Linked DNA regions of Homo sapiens: region 1 is linked to region 2. The links are contacts of gene promoters, found by promoter capture Hi-C in blood cells and fetal thymus (Javierre and others, 2016). All regions are on one chromosome and are shown on one strand. The core of a region is centred on a gene start or on the middle of the fragment in contact, and the rest is flanking DNA. Distances in the headings are between cores, read along the strand shown. Region 1 overlaps PVR (PVR cell adhesion molecule). Region 2 holds the start of ZNF225 (zinc finger protein 225).

Region 1 (6,666 bases), core at 3,845-6,344, 550 kb before region 2:
TTAATGCCTGGAAGATTTCATGCTGGGTTCGTGGGGTCAGAGTACCCTCAGAATCCACCTGACAGATTCTCACTCTGTCGCCCAAGCTGGAGTGCAGTGGCACGATCTCAGCTCACTGCAACCTCCACCTCCCAGGTTCAAGCGATTCTCTTGCCTCAGCCTCCCGAGTAGCTGGGACTATAGGCGCACGCCACCACGCCCGGCTTATTTTTGTATTTCTAGCAGAGACGAGGTTTCACCATGTTGGCCAGGCTGGTCTCGAACTCCTGATCTCAGGTGATCCAATCCACCTCGGCCTCCCAAAGTGTTGGGATTACAGGCGTGAGCCACTGTGCCCGGCCCTTCAATCCTTCCTGCAGTTTTGTAGTTTCCTTGGTCTGTCTCCGGGAGAGAAGTTGTTGCAAACCCAGCAGTTATTTCCAGGCATGGATTAAGCAAAGCCAGCTATTCTGGATTTTCCGGTGGCTGGATTCTACTCTCTCTGTCTCCTTCCCTGCCTCCCTCCATTCTTCCCTCCCTCCCTCTCTCTTTCTTCCTCTCCCTTTCAAACAATCACTTCGATTCCTTTTGCATTATTAAAAGAAGAGTCAAGGTTTATTGCAGAACTTGTAGACAGTACTTAGAATAAAATTCAAACATGTTCCAACCACCCAGACAGAGGTAGTCACTGCTGGTAACAGAGGTCTAGGAGTCCATCCTGTCCTGCAGCCTTCATCTGGGCCTCTCCCCAGCCCCAGAGGGCAGGTCCTGTTTGGTCCAGCCTTCCAGGCGGTCCCATTCTTTTGGCCAGGGATTGGTTGAGCGGTGGGCGGCGCTGGTGAATGAGACCGGAAAAGACGCTGCTGGGTGAGGTTTCTGCTGCTGGATGCGGTTTCTCGTTCCTACAAAGGCTCACCCAGGTAGGGATGGGCAGCTTCTCTGGGTCTGAGTCTGGATGTGATGCCTGGAATGCAGCAGCCATCTTGGCACCAGAGGGTGATGCCAATATGTGGAGGAAAGCAGAACAAACAGCAGAGCAGCAGAACTGGGCCTGCATGCTGTGCCCGGAGTAGAGCCAGGCAATCCAGTTTTTTTTTTTTTTTTTTTTTTTTTGGAGACAGAGTCTCACTCTTGTCACCCAGGCTGGAGTGCAGTAACTCGATCATGGTTTACTCCAGCCTCCACTTCCCGGGTTCAAGGGATTCTCCCACCTCAGCCTTCTGAGTAGCTGGGATTACAAGCATGCACCACCACACCTGGCTAATTTTTTTTGTAGAGACACGGTTTCACTATGGTCTGGTCTTGAACTCCTTACCTCAAGTGATCCACCCGCTGCAGCCTCCCAAAGTGCTGGGATTACAGGCGTGAGCCACTGCGCCCAGCCCGTAATTTTTTGTAAAAAGTTAGATTTCAGTAGCACAGACATTTTCACCCCAAGCAATCTGCAACCCAGAGGCTTCTGGGACCTCACAGCTCCTCAAGGTGAGATCGTATCAACCTGAAAAGATTCCCGACTCCCGTGCAGGAGCAATGCAGAGGGAGGGTGTGGAGTGTTTTAGCCTCCTTATGATCTCCATCATACCCTGCCCCCCGCCAAGTCTCTGATAAGGATAGTTGCGGTTTTCTTAACCTTACTATAAGTTTATACAACACCTATACCAAAATTCTGGGCCCACTCTCCATTCCTGGCTCTGTGGACTCCAAGGATGCCCCCTCCCTCCAGAAAAAGGTCATCGCCTACGTCGCTGGTGGGAACAGAACTCAGCACAACTTCTGTGAGGGTTCATTTGTCAATATCTATCACAATGACAAGAAACATACTCTTTGGCCCAGCAATTCCACCTCCAGGAGTGTGTCCTACACTCAGGTGTTAACATGAGCTAAATGACAGTGTGCATTGGCCAGGCACGGTGGCTTATGCCTATAAATCCCAGTACTTTAGGAGGCCAAGGCGGGAGGATTGTTTGGGCCCAGGAATTTGAGACCAGCCTGGGCAAGATGGCAAGATTCCTTTCTCTAAAATAAAAAAAAAAAAAAGTAAAATAAATGACAGTGTGTAAAGTTATTCACTACAACATTGTAATAGTGAAAGGCTGGAAAGGATACAAATGCCTGTCCTTAGAGGCCTCGTTAAAAAAGCCCTGTACAGCCCTCCCATGGAATATGAGGTGGGTGTAGAACAACTCAGGAGGCATTCTCTGAATTACCAGAAACTGAGCAAAAAAAGTAAGGTTCAGGGTGGGCGCGGTGGCTCACATCTGTAATCCTAGCGCTTTGGGAGGCCAAGGCAGGAGGAGCACTTGAGCCCAGGAGTTCCAGCCCAGCCTAGGCAACATAGCGAGATGCCTATCTCTACAAAAGTTAAAAAGAGATTTAGCCAGGTGGGGTGGCGCCCACCTATAGTCCCAGCTACTCGGGAGGCTGAGATGGAAGGATAGCCCGAGCCCAGCAGGTCGAGGCTGCAATGAGCCATGATCACGCCACTGCACTCCAGCCTGGGCAACAAAGTGAGACTCTTATTTCTAAAATAAATAAATAAATAAACAAATAAATAAATAAATAAAGTGCACTATTCAATGGTTTTTTGGTATAATTAATTTTCAAAAATGGTGGTTAAAAAGAGATAACAGACAATTTGCCATTTTAGCTATTTTTGAGTGTATGATTCAGTGGCATTCATTACATTCACAGTGTTGTGTAAAACTGGATATCCATGTGCAGAAGAATGGAGCTGGACCATTACACTCCAAACACAAATTAGAATGGATCCCTCATGTCTTTTTATCTTCTAATTTTGGGACGTTTATGTACTATCTAATTAAAAAAATTAGCTTAGCATGGTGAGGGGCAGCTGTGGTCACAGCTACTTGGTAGGCTGAGGTGGGAGGATTGCTTGAGCCCCGGAGTTAGAGGCTGCAATGAGCTATGATCGTGCCATTGCACTCCAGCCTGGGTGACAGGAGACACCGTCCCTTAAACATTTTTTTTGGAGAGGAAAAAAAAAAAGACAAGCTGTTCCTAAGGTGCCTGGGAATCCCAGCCCTTATGGCCCTCTTCATTTAGCGTCTTGCTTCCATGCCTCTGGTTCCATCCCACGTGGTGACAGTACACATGAAACCTGTCTGCTCCTTGATTTCCACAAAAGACCCCATTGCACACAGCCGCTGGAGGTACAATAAATAAGCTTTAATGAGATTCTGGGTGCTGGAGACAGACAAGGAGCTTACGTGCCACCAAAGCAACCAATGTTCCTTTATCTCCCCAACTCTGTGGGGTCCCACTGGCCTCCTCACCCTTGAGCCCTTTGCCCCTGCCATCCTGCTGGTTCCTATCTCTTCCCCACACTTCTCTGTTCCCGGCTCTTCCATCTCTGTCCAGAGCAAATCCTCTGTCCTGCTTATTTTCTCTTGCAGAGCAGCTCAAGCTTTGCATTCCCATTTAGCATCTTGGCCCAAGGTCTTCTCTCCCTCAACGTATTTTCCCAAACAGTTTTCTTTATAAGAGGAATTCTGCTGTCTGCCCTCAAGATCATAGACCTTTTTAACTTGTCAGTTGCACTGAGCAGCTGGGCCTCCTGGGTCTTGGGTCGCATCCATCTTGGTCCTATAGGAGCGTGTCCTGAGCAACTGCAGCGCTGCCTCCCCCTGCATCCCTTCCCCCTTGTGTTGGAAATTGCATTTGCTTCTTTTGTGGGTTATTTCCTGCCAGTCCCAGCTTGCTGGCTGCAGATGCTGGCAGAAAGTGGCTGCAGATGCTGGCAGAAAGTGGCTGCAGCTGACAACCTTCTTCAAGTTCACATCTAGTAGTTTTCTCTGCTCCTTGGACACCCCCCAGGCAGCTGCTTGCGGCCTGAATTGCAGCCTCTGGTGACCAGGGTCAGTGGCTGTTTCTTGTAACCACAGAGATCTGACGGATACAGAGATTTAGAAGCTCAAGGCCAGAGGCCAAATTTTTACCAAAATTCTCTGGTGGCCCACACCCTTCTGTGTGGTCTGCTATGCAGTAAAGGCTTAACCTTGCCCAAAGAAAGATCGGGCCCTTTATCCTCAGCTCCTGGGCATTCATCTCTAAGCCCTTGGAATATCCTGCCTGGTAGCTGATCTTGGAGTCTTGGGCCACTCTGGGTGGTTCATGCTAATGATGTGATTTATGGTGGGGGTCTTGGGCCACACGGTATTGGCTTGATGTATGAGGTCAGCCGTGTGGATGGTGAGCTGCTTAATTCAGCACTTTGGGAGGCCAAGGCAGAAGTATCACTTGGAGCCAAGAGTTCAAGACCAGCCTGGGCAACACAGGGAAACCTCGACTTTACAAATAATAAAAAGATTAGCCAGACGTGGTGGCACATACCTGTAGTCATAGCTACTCAGGAGGCTGAGGTGGGAGGATGACTTGGCGTTGAGAAGTCAAGGCTGCAATGAACTGTGATCTCACCACTGTACTCTAGTCTGCCAACAGAGCCAGACCCTGTCTCAAGACAAACAAAAAACTCTGGACACAAAGATCTCGAGTGAGCTGCTCTGGTTGGCAGTATTGGCAGTACTTCTTGCATGTTGTCACATGTTGCTGTGAGAATCAGGTGCTGCCTATATGGCTCCACTGGGAGAGGGCAGATGGAAGCCGTCGCCTCATCTGTCGTGGAACGTGTGCTGTGCACCTCCTCCCTTTGCTGATCTTAATCTCTGTCCTTTTACTGTAATAAACTGTAACTGTGAGCCTAACAGCTTTCCTGAGTCTAGTGAGTCCTTCTAGCAAATGAAAGGAGGGTGGTCTTGGAGACCTATGAACTTGCACCTGCCCCCGTCGTTTTGAGGTCTGGCACAGGGAGGGAGGCTGGTCTCTTTGGAGGGGGTCTTCATCCATTGGGGTCGGGTCCAACTCTGGAGGCCCACGTCCTTGCCAGCTCCAGTCTCTCTCCCCTCTCAGTCCCGACGCTGTCACCTTGTGCCCTCTGTCTGTGGATCCTGGGAAGAGCTGTTCTCTCTGCTCACAGCTGAATAGGAGACATGCTAGAAGAGGGTTTTCAAATTTTAGCCTTGGGGCTCTTTTGAACAAAATCAAACATCTTCCCACTGAAGCCCCATGTGCAAAGAACTGCAGGCCCGTCCCCTCCTCTCTCCCTGGAAGCCAGGGCAGTGCTTCTCAAGGTGTGGCCATGGGTGGAATTGAAGGGGCGTGGGGCAGGGGGGAGAGAGCGGATATTAAAATGCAGATTCCCTGGCCCCATCACAGACCAGACTGTCTGGGGCTGCGTCTTAGCAAACTCTACAGGGGATTCCGCCCAGCAGGAAGGGTTGGGAAATGCTGCTCGAGGCACCAGGAGAAAAGACCCAGGCTCCTGAGGCCGGGCCGTGGGCATCTGAAGACGTCTGGTCTGTAGTTCGTGCAGACCCCACACCCTCCTTAGCTCCAACACTGCACTTACCCCATTAGCTGAGGCGCTGGCATGCTCTGTACCTGGGGAAATAGGAGGGGAAGTCGTCAGGAAGGAATAATGCTGGGAAGCATGGGAAGAAGACATGCCTGGGTGTCAGGGCCCTGAAAATGTCAAGTTCTGCCTCTGCTATTACATGGGGGTGCCATTTCCCTTAATGGTATACACGTGTGTCAGACAGGGATGGAGGGTGTGCTTTCTAAGGATTTAGCCATCCAGTTATTCACTTGGTTATGAAATATCCATAAATATCGAGCCTGGCTCTGGAACCAGATGGATGGGTTCAAATTCCATCTCTGTCCTTTAGGAGCTGTGTGAACTTGGACAAGTGACTTAACCTCTCTGTGTTCAGTTTCCTAGACTATTCAACAGGGGTTTATTTAGCAAATAGTAGTATTATTCAGCAAATGGTGAATGTCTACTTTGTGCCAGGTACATTCTAGGTGCTGGGGACACAGCTGTGAACAAAACAGATAAAAATGCCTGCTCTTGGCCAGGCGTGGTGGCTCACACCTATAATTCCAGCACTCTGGGAGGCTGAGGTGGGCGGATTGCTGGAGTCTAGGAGTTTGAGACCAGCTTGGGCAACACAACGAAACTCCATCTCTACTAAAAATATAAAAAATTAGCCAGGCGTGGGAGTGCACGCCTATAATCCCAGCTACTCGAGAGGCTGAGGTGGGAGAATCACCTGAGCCTGGGAGGTTGAGGCTGCAGTGAGCCAAGATCACATCACTGCACTACTCCAGTCTGGGCAACAGAGCAAGATCTTGTCTCAAAACAAAACACAAACAAACAAACAAAAAGCCTGCTCTTGTGCAGTTTATGTTAATAATAACAATAATAGTAATAATAGCAATAACAATCATAGCAAATACATACTCAGTATGTGGCTTACCATGTGCCACCTACTGTGTTAAGTGCTCTACTGTATTATTAGGTACCATCACCCCATTTTACAGATGAGGAAACTGAGTCATACAGCTTAAGCTATTTGCCTATGGTGACATCACTAATCAAGCAGTAGCTTTAGGGCCCAGATACAGGCAGTCTGGCTCTGGAGCTGACACATTGAATCACTCAGCAAACACTTCCTCGAGTGCCTCTTTTATGCCCGGCCCAGTGGTAGGCGGTCCTGGGGACACAGTCATGACAGTGACAGCCTCAGGTCTGCTATCTTGGGGCTCACAGTCCACTGGGGATGACAAACAAGTCCCCCACGGTGATGACCCAGAATGGGCAAGGCTGGAGTG
Region 2 (6,001 bases), core at 1,507-4,006:
CACGGTGGCTCACATCTGCAATTCCAGCACTTTGGGAGGCTAAGGCAGGCAGATCACCTGAGGTCAGGAGTTTGAGAACAGCCTGGCCAAGATGATGAAACCCCGTCTCTACTAAAAATACAAAAATTTTCTGGGTGTGGTGGTGTGTGCCTGTAGTCCCAGCTACTTGGGAGGCTGAAGCAGGAGAATCACTTGAACTCCGGAGGTGGAGGTTGCAATGAGCCAAAATCAGGCCACTGCACTCCAGCCTTGGCGACAGAACAAGTCTCCATAAAAGAAATTTTAACAGCAAGAGAGGCAAGCTCTACTCACCTTCAACGTGGTCATTTTTCCTCCTATTTCAGGGAATATTCAGAGTCCTGAGTGATACAGTCCAAGGGAAAGCAGAATCCTGCCTGGAAAGTACCAGGGAAGGCAGAAAAAGAGACATGAAAGTGTGGCCAGGGATGCCATCCACCAACACGAATGTGTATTGTAAATTAACACATGAATGTTCCCAACAGCATCATTCATAGTAACCCAAAACTGCACACCAACAAACTCCCTCCTATGCGTACATGGATAGACAAATTGTGGCCTATCCATACAATGGAATCTTATTTGGAAATTAAAAGGAATGAAGTACTGATTCATGCTACAACACGCATGAACTTTGGAAACATTATGCTAAGTGAAAGAAGCCAGTCACATAGGAAGGCCCACATATTGCATGATCCTATATCTATGAAATTCCAGAGTAGGCAAGTGTATATAACGAGAAAGTAGATAGGTGGTCTCTGCATATTTGAGGTGACAAAGAGGATTAACTATAAGTGAGCACAAGGAGGCTTAATGGGGGATGAAAATTATTTAAACTGAATTATGGTGATGTTTATTCCACTCCACAAAGTTCCTAAAAATCATTAAAGTGTACACACGAAATGGGTAGTTTCTATGATATGTAGAATACACCTCAATAAAGTTGGACAAAGCATTGGTAATTGTTCATCCACATGTCATTTAACTTAATAAGACTGGATTCTGGATCTACACTGATAGAATATTTATAGTTGAATGAATGAATAAGCAAATGAAGGAGAAGGGAGAGTTCACCTTTACAGTAGAATGTGCACTAATAAATGTATTTCTCCTTACAAAATTTTATTTAACTAAAAAATTAGGGAGTGTATATTGAGAGCAACTTGAATCTGTGTTCCTGGGGTAAAAAAAAAAATTCAAAATAATTTTACAATGCGGAAATCTGACAAACATGACTTTAGCCAAGTGAACAAAGTTGAGATCACCAATGAAGTGACAAACTGACATATGGCCCCTGTTATGTTGCAATAAGAAATTTACCACTTCAGGCTGGGCACGGTGGCTCATGCCTGTAATCCCACACTTTGGGAGGCCAAGGCGGTTGAATCACCTGAGGTCAGGAGTCTGAGACCAGCCTGGCCAACATGGTGAAATCCCTTCTCTACTAAAAATACAAAAATTAGCCGGATGTGGTGGCAGGCACCTGTAATCCCAGCTACTTGGGAGGCTGAGGCAGGAGAATAGCTTGAACCCAGGAGGTGGATGTTGCAATGAGCTGAGATCGTGCCATGCACTACAGCCTGGGCGACAAGAGCGAAACTCCGTCTCAAGAAAAAAAAAGAGAGAGAGAGATTTACCACTTCTGTGGTATTCCAGCAAAAAATGCATATTTTGAAGTTAAACGTGAAATACATCAGAAAAACTCCAAATGAACATCTTTGACCAAAATAACTTCATCTATACTCTTCAAAAATAACAAGGATAAAATACCAAGAAAAAACGATGAAAGCTATGCTATCTTTCAAGATTAAAGACTAGAAAAACATGACAACTGAAAGCAACACCCATGCCCGAAGACACATCCTATACACTCTCGGTTGGGGTGAGCATCTCTGTCAAAGAAAAAAGCCAAGGATCACTCACGTAGAGCTTTGCCCTCAGAAGCCAAGAAGTCCCTCCCTGCAGCTCTTTTGGAAAGGTCGGGCTGGGTAAGGAGAAGGCTGTGAAACACTCTGACCGTGGTCGCCGTGCCCCATAAAAGTTAAATGCTCCTCTCCCCTCCTGGAAGTGGATGCAACCCTCGCCTTCCTAAAAGAGAGGTCAGAAGGCGTCCGGGATCACCCAGCGTCTTGCAGGAATCAGGGAGAAGGGCCGGTGCCCCTGCAGCTGGAGTTTCACCCCACCCGGGGACCTGACAGGCTTCGTGGGAAATTAACAAGAGACCACCAGTCACCAAGTGACAGGGGCTGCTTTAAGGCTCTCATTTGTGTTACCGCTTTCAGTTCCCAAAACGATTCTATTAGGATGGTCCTAAACTCCCCATCTTAAAGAACTGTAACGGGAGACCCAAGGAGATTAAGTAACATCCCAGCGTTTTATCGCGAGGAAGTGGCCACGCGCGTGGGGTGCAGGGAGGCCGAGTGGGCGAGCTCAGAGCCCCGGAGACCCTAAAACCAGGCGAGACGCGACCCGACCAAGTCCCAAACACCCCGGGGACGCGAGGAGAGCCCCAAGCCCAAGAAGGCTCCACTGACGAGAACGAAAACAGCGGCCCCGCTCCGCCAAACCTCTGCTCTCCGACGAGGTTTCTTTTCCCCTAATTCGATCACCAGTTCGTTAAGGATCCAATGCGTAGGTCCAGGAAATTCAGAAGGGTCTCGCGGAACTGACCCAAACTACCAGGGACAAAACTGCAGCAACCTCACAGTAACGGAGCGGAAGTGGCCCGCTACTCCACTGAGTGTCTGGACTCCACTTCCCAGAATTCCTGAGACAAACTGACCGCGACGACCCCGAGCGTCTGGACTACACTTCCCAGAATTCCCTGGGATCCACCTGCCGGAGTCAAATTGACCGAGACTCCACTGAGCGTCTGGACTACATTTCCCAGAAATCCCCTGATTCGCCTGCCGGAGCCAAGCTGACCGCTACTCCACTGAGCGTCTGGACTACCATTCCCAGAATTGCTTGTATCCTCCTTCTGGAGCCAGTGTGTACGACTCCACAGAGCATTTGGATTACACTCCTCCGAATGCTGAAGGAAAAACGCTCAAAATCTCATTCTTCAGGGGGAAGCGTTGCCACTCCGAGGTGCCCACTGGGAACGAATCCCAAAGCCACGAGCGCCTGCCTAGTGGGGAATGTGAACTGTTATCCTGAGAGTCGTCCTTCTCTCTCCCTGGTCCAGGACAGAAAATACTGAATAGACAGGAATTTCTGAAGTCTAAACGCCTCCAATGATAACAGGAGTGTTATTGGAAAGGGAACAAGCGAGAAGACACAGTCTTCGAGGAGTTAAGTTTTGCTAATCTAATGGTAAGAAATGGTTTCTAAATGTAGTTTTAATTTGTATTTGTTCTTTTGTAAATAAAGTGGAACATCCGTGCATATTTTCCGTTGCCACTATTATAGTCTTTGTGAATTGGTCAAATAGTTTGCCCACATTTCTATTGAGTGTTTAGTTTTTTCCCCTCCGTTAAGTATTATTTACATACTCATATTAACATTGTATCAAATATTGCTCAACCAAAAAGCTTTTTTCCTTTGACTTGTTTTTCGCTATGCAAAACGTTTTTAACGTGGTCGTTTTATTATTTAAAAAATATTTTTGAGGTGTAATTCACAAAACAAAATTATTTTAAGGCACATAATTCAATGGCAATGGCATCTAGTACGAATACAGTGTTGTTAATATATACGAGTTAAGAAGCCATCACTTAGGCAGATAGGGTATGGGAGCCCTCGGTAAGGCTTTTCTTTTTAATGAAAAGCAGCCCCAAATTATTTCCCTTCCTAAGGAAGAGCAGCCTGTAAAATCCAGCTGCCGCAGACATAGATACCAGCAGTTGTGCCAATCATGTTAAAGATGGCGGCTCCATCTTCCCTTCTCTTTGTCAGCCACGTGCACAGTAAGAAGCTGGCAAGATGGGCCAATCAACTGGGAAGCCTATTTGCATAAGAAGATTAGGGTGGGGCGACCAGCCTTCCCCACGCACTATGTAAACGTCATAACTGATCGAACCAATCTATGACCCCTATGTAAATCAGACACTGCCTCCTCAAACTGGTCTGTAAAACTCAGCACATTCACTGCCAGCCGACCCTTTTCCGCTCGGAGACCCCTTCCTCTATGGAGGAACCCGTTTCTCTTTCTCTTCTTCCTATTAAACCTCCGCTCCTAAACTGAGGAGTTTTTGTGTGTCCGTGTCCTAAATTTTTCTGGCGCTTAACGACGAACCCCGGGTTTAAACCTCAGACAAAGTAGCTGCTTCATTGTGAAACCACCACCTCTTGAATTACAAAACATTTTTATCACCCAAAGAAAACCCCATGCCCACTAAGCAATCACTACTGTTGTCCATAATCCCATTCCTGGGGAAACATGAATCTTTCTCTCTTTTCTATTACCTATTTTGGACAAATCATAAAAATGAATGGAACATTTTGTTTCTAACTCCCTTTGCTTAGCATAATATTTTTAATGTTATTCACATCATACCACGTATCAGTACTTCATTCCTTTTCATAGATGAATATTTTATGTTTATACTACAATTTGTTTCTCCATTCATACATTGACGCACATTTGGCTTCTTTTCACCTTTTGGCTGTAGTGAACAGTGTTGCTACAAATGTTCGTGTATACGTATTTGTTTCATTACCAGCTTTCAGTTTTGGTTGTTTTTTGTTTGTTTTTTGTTTTGAGAGGGAGTTTCGCCTCCCGCGTTCAAGCGATTCTCCTGCCTCAGCCTCCAGCGTAGCTGGGATTACAAGCATGTGCCACCACGCCCGGCTAATTTTGTATTTTTAGTAGAGAGGGGGTTTCTCCATGCTGGTCAGGCTGGTCTCAAACTCCCGACCTCAGGTGATTCACCCGCCTCGGCCTCCCAAAATGCTGGGATCACAGGCGTGAGCCACCGCGTCCAACCGTGTATTCCACTTCTTTCTGCTGCTGAGACACAATAATTTCAGATGACTTCTCTTTATATTCACTCATTCTGAATACAGCAAGAGTAGGGAGATGAATATTAGGTGCACTTACCTGTGGCTTCAGAGCCTGCACAAACACAATCTCATATATACCACTTCCAAATGGAATACTAATCTGCACATGTAACTTAAAAAGGTGCAGGGGTCAACACCCGATTCATGATGGAAAGCATAAGTCACATGTTAATTTGGTGGTCTGTGGTCAAGTGTTCTGTCCGTTTTAAGACCCCTAGTGGCCGGGCGTGGTGGCTCACACCTGTAATCCCAGCACTTTGGGAGGCCAAGGCGGGTGGATCACGAGGTCAGGAGTTTGAGGCCAGCCTGGCCAAGATGGTGAAACCCCGTCTCTACTAAAAATACAAAAATCAGCCGGGTGCGGTGGCGGGGCACCTGCAATCCTAGCTACTCGGGAGGCTGAGGCAGGAGAATCGCTTGAAACCGGGAGGCAGAGGTTGCAGTGAGCCAAGATTGCACCACTGCACTCTAGCTTGGGCCACAGAGCAAGACTCGTCTCAAAAAACAAAAACAAAAACAAAACAAAACAAAACACCCTAGCAAAATGAAAAGCTTCTTCTCCAGAGGAGAGTAAGTATATGCAGAGGATGGCAGAAATTTGCTTCAAAATACTAAGCATCTGAATTTTGATTCTCCAATTAGGGCCAACCATAGGCTTCAAACATACTATCTGCCACGGACATTTCAAACACTTTTGGACCCCCGGGGTCACAGGGTTTTAGTGGCAGAGAAGCTTACGTGGAAGCTGGGACATATTACACAAACTTCTCTTGTCTGGGACAAGTCAAAGTTTTTGGGTCACTCATAAAAGTCAGAGTAGCACAATCGAAACAATAAGTTGCATCCAATATCAAAAATGGCACACTAAGCATTGTGACATTTTCTTTGCTTGTAGGGGGGTGATAAGCCCTATTTGTTCTATACCTTAGAAAATATATCACTTTAACTTAACACACTTAAGATATTACTATGGTGTATA

The links. Contacts are between HindIII fragments. The CHiCAGO score rates a contact against its expected background, and 5 or more counts as called.
Region 1: a contact is called between a fragment that was not itself captured here and the fragment with the promoter of ZNF225 in region 2, in 1 of 17 cell types (erythroblasts). The highest score is 5.5, in erythroblasts.

What each region holds. Positions count from the first base shown.
Region 1 is chr19:44,660,062-44,666,727 of GRCh38, reverse strand. It overlaps PVR (PVR cell adhesion molecule), which reads right to left. Exons shown (of 8, transcript NM_006505.5): 7 at 5,405-5,436; 8 at 566-4,988. The coding sequence ends at 4,917. It also overlaps a transcript of CEACAM19 not described here. Among named protein-coding and RNA genes, the nearest start is that of CEACAM19, 8.1 kb to the left of the region's middle. The HindIII fragment of the contact is 3,377 bases long and covers 3,406-6,666 here.
Region 2 is chr19:44,110,154-44,116,154 of GRCh38, reverse strand. It overlaps ZNF225 (zinc finger protein 225), which reads right to left and starts at 2,756. Exons shown (of 5, transcript NM_013362.4): 1 at 2,586-2,756; 2 at 313-395. The coding sequence starts at 327. ZNF225-AS1 (ZNF225 and ZNF224 antisense RNA 1) reads left to right here and starts at 2,972. Exons shown (of 2, transcript NR_033341.1): 1 at 2,972-3,333. RefSeq lists an enhancer at 2,303-3,002 and a silencer at 2,695-3,045. The HindIII fragment of the contact is 4,811 bases long and covers 1-3,553 here.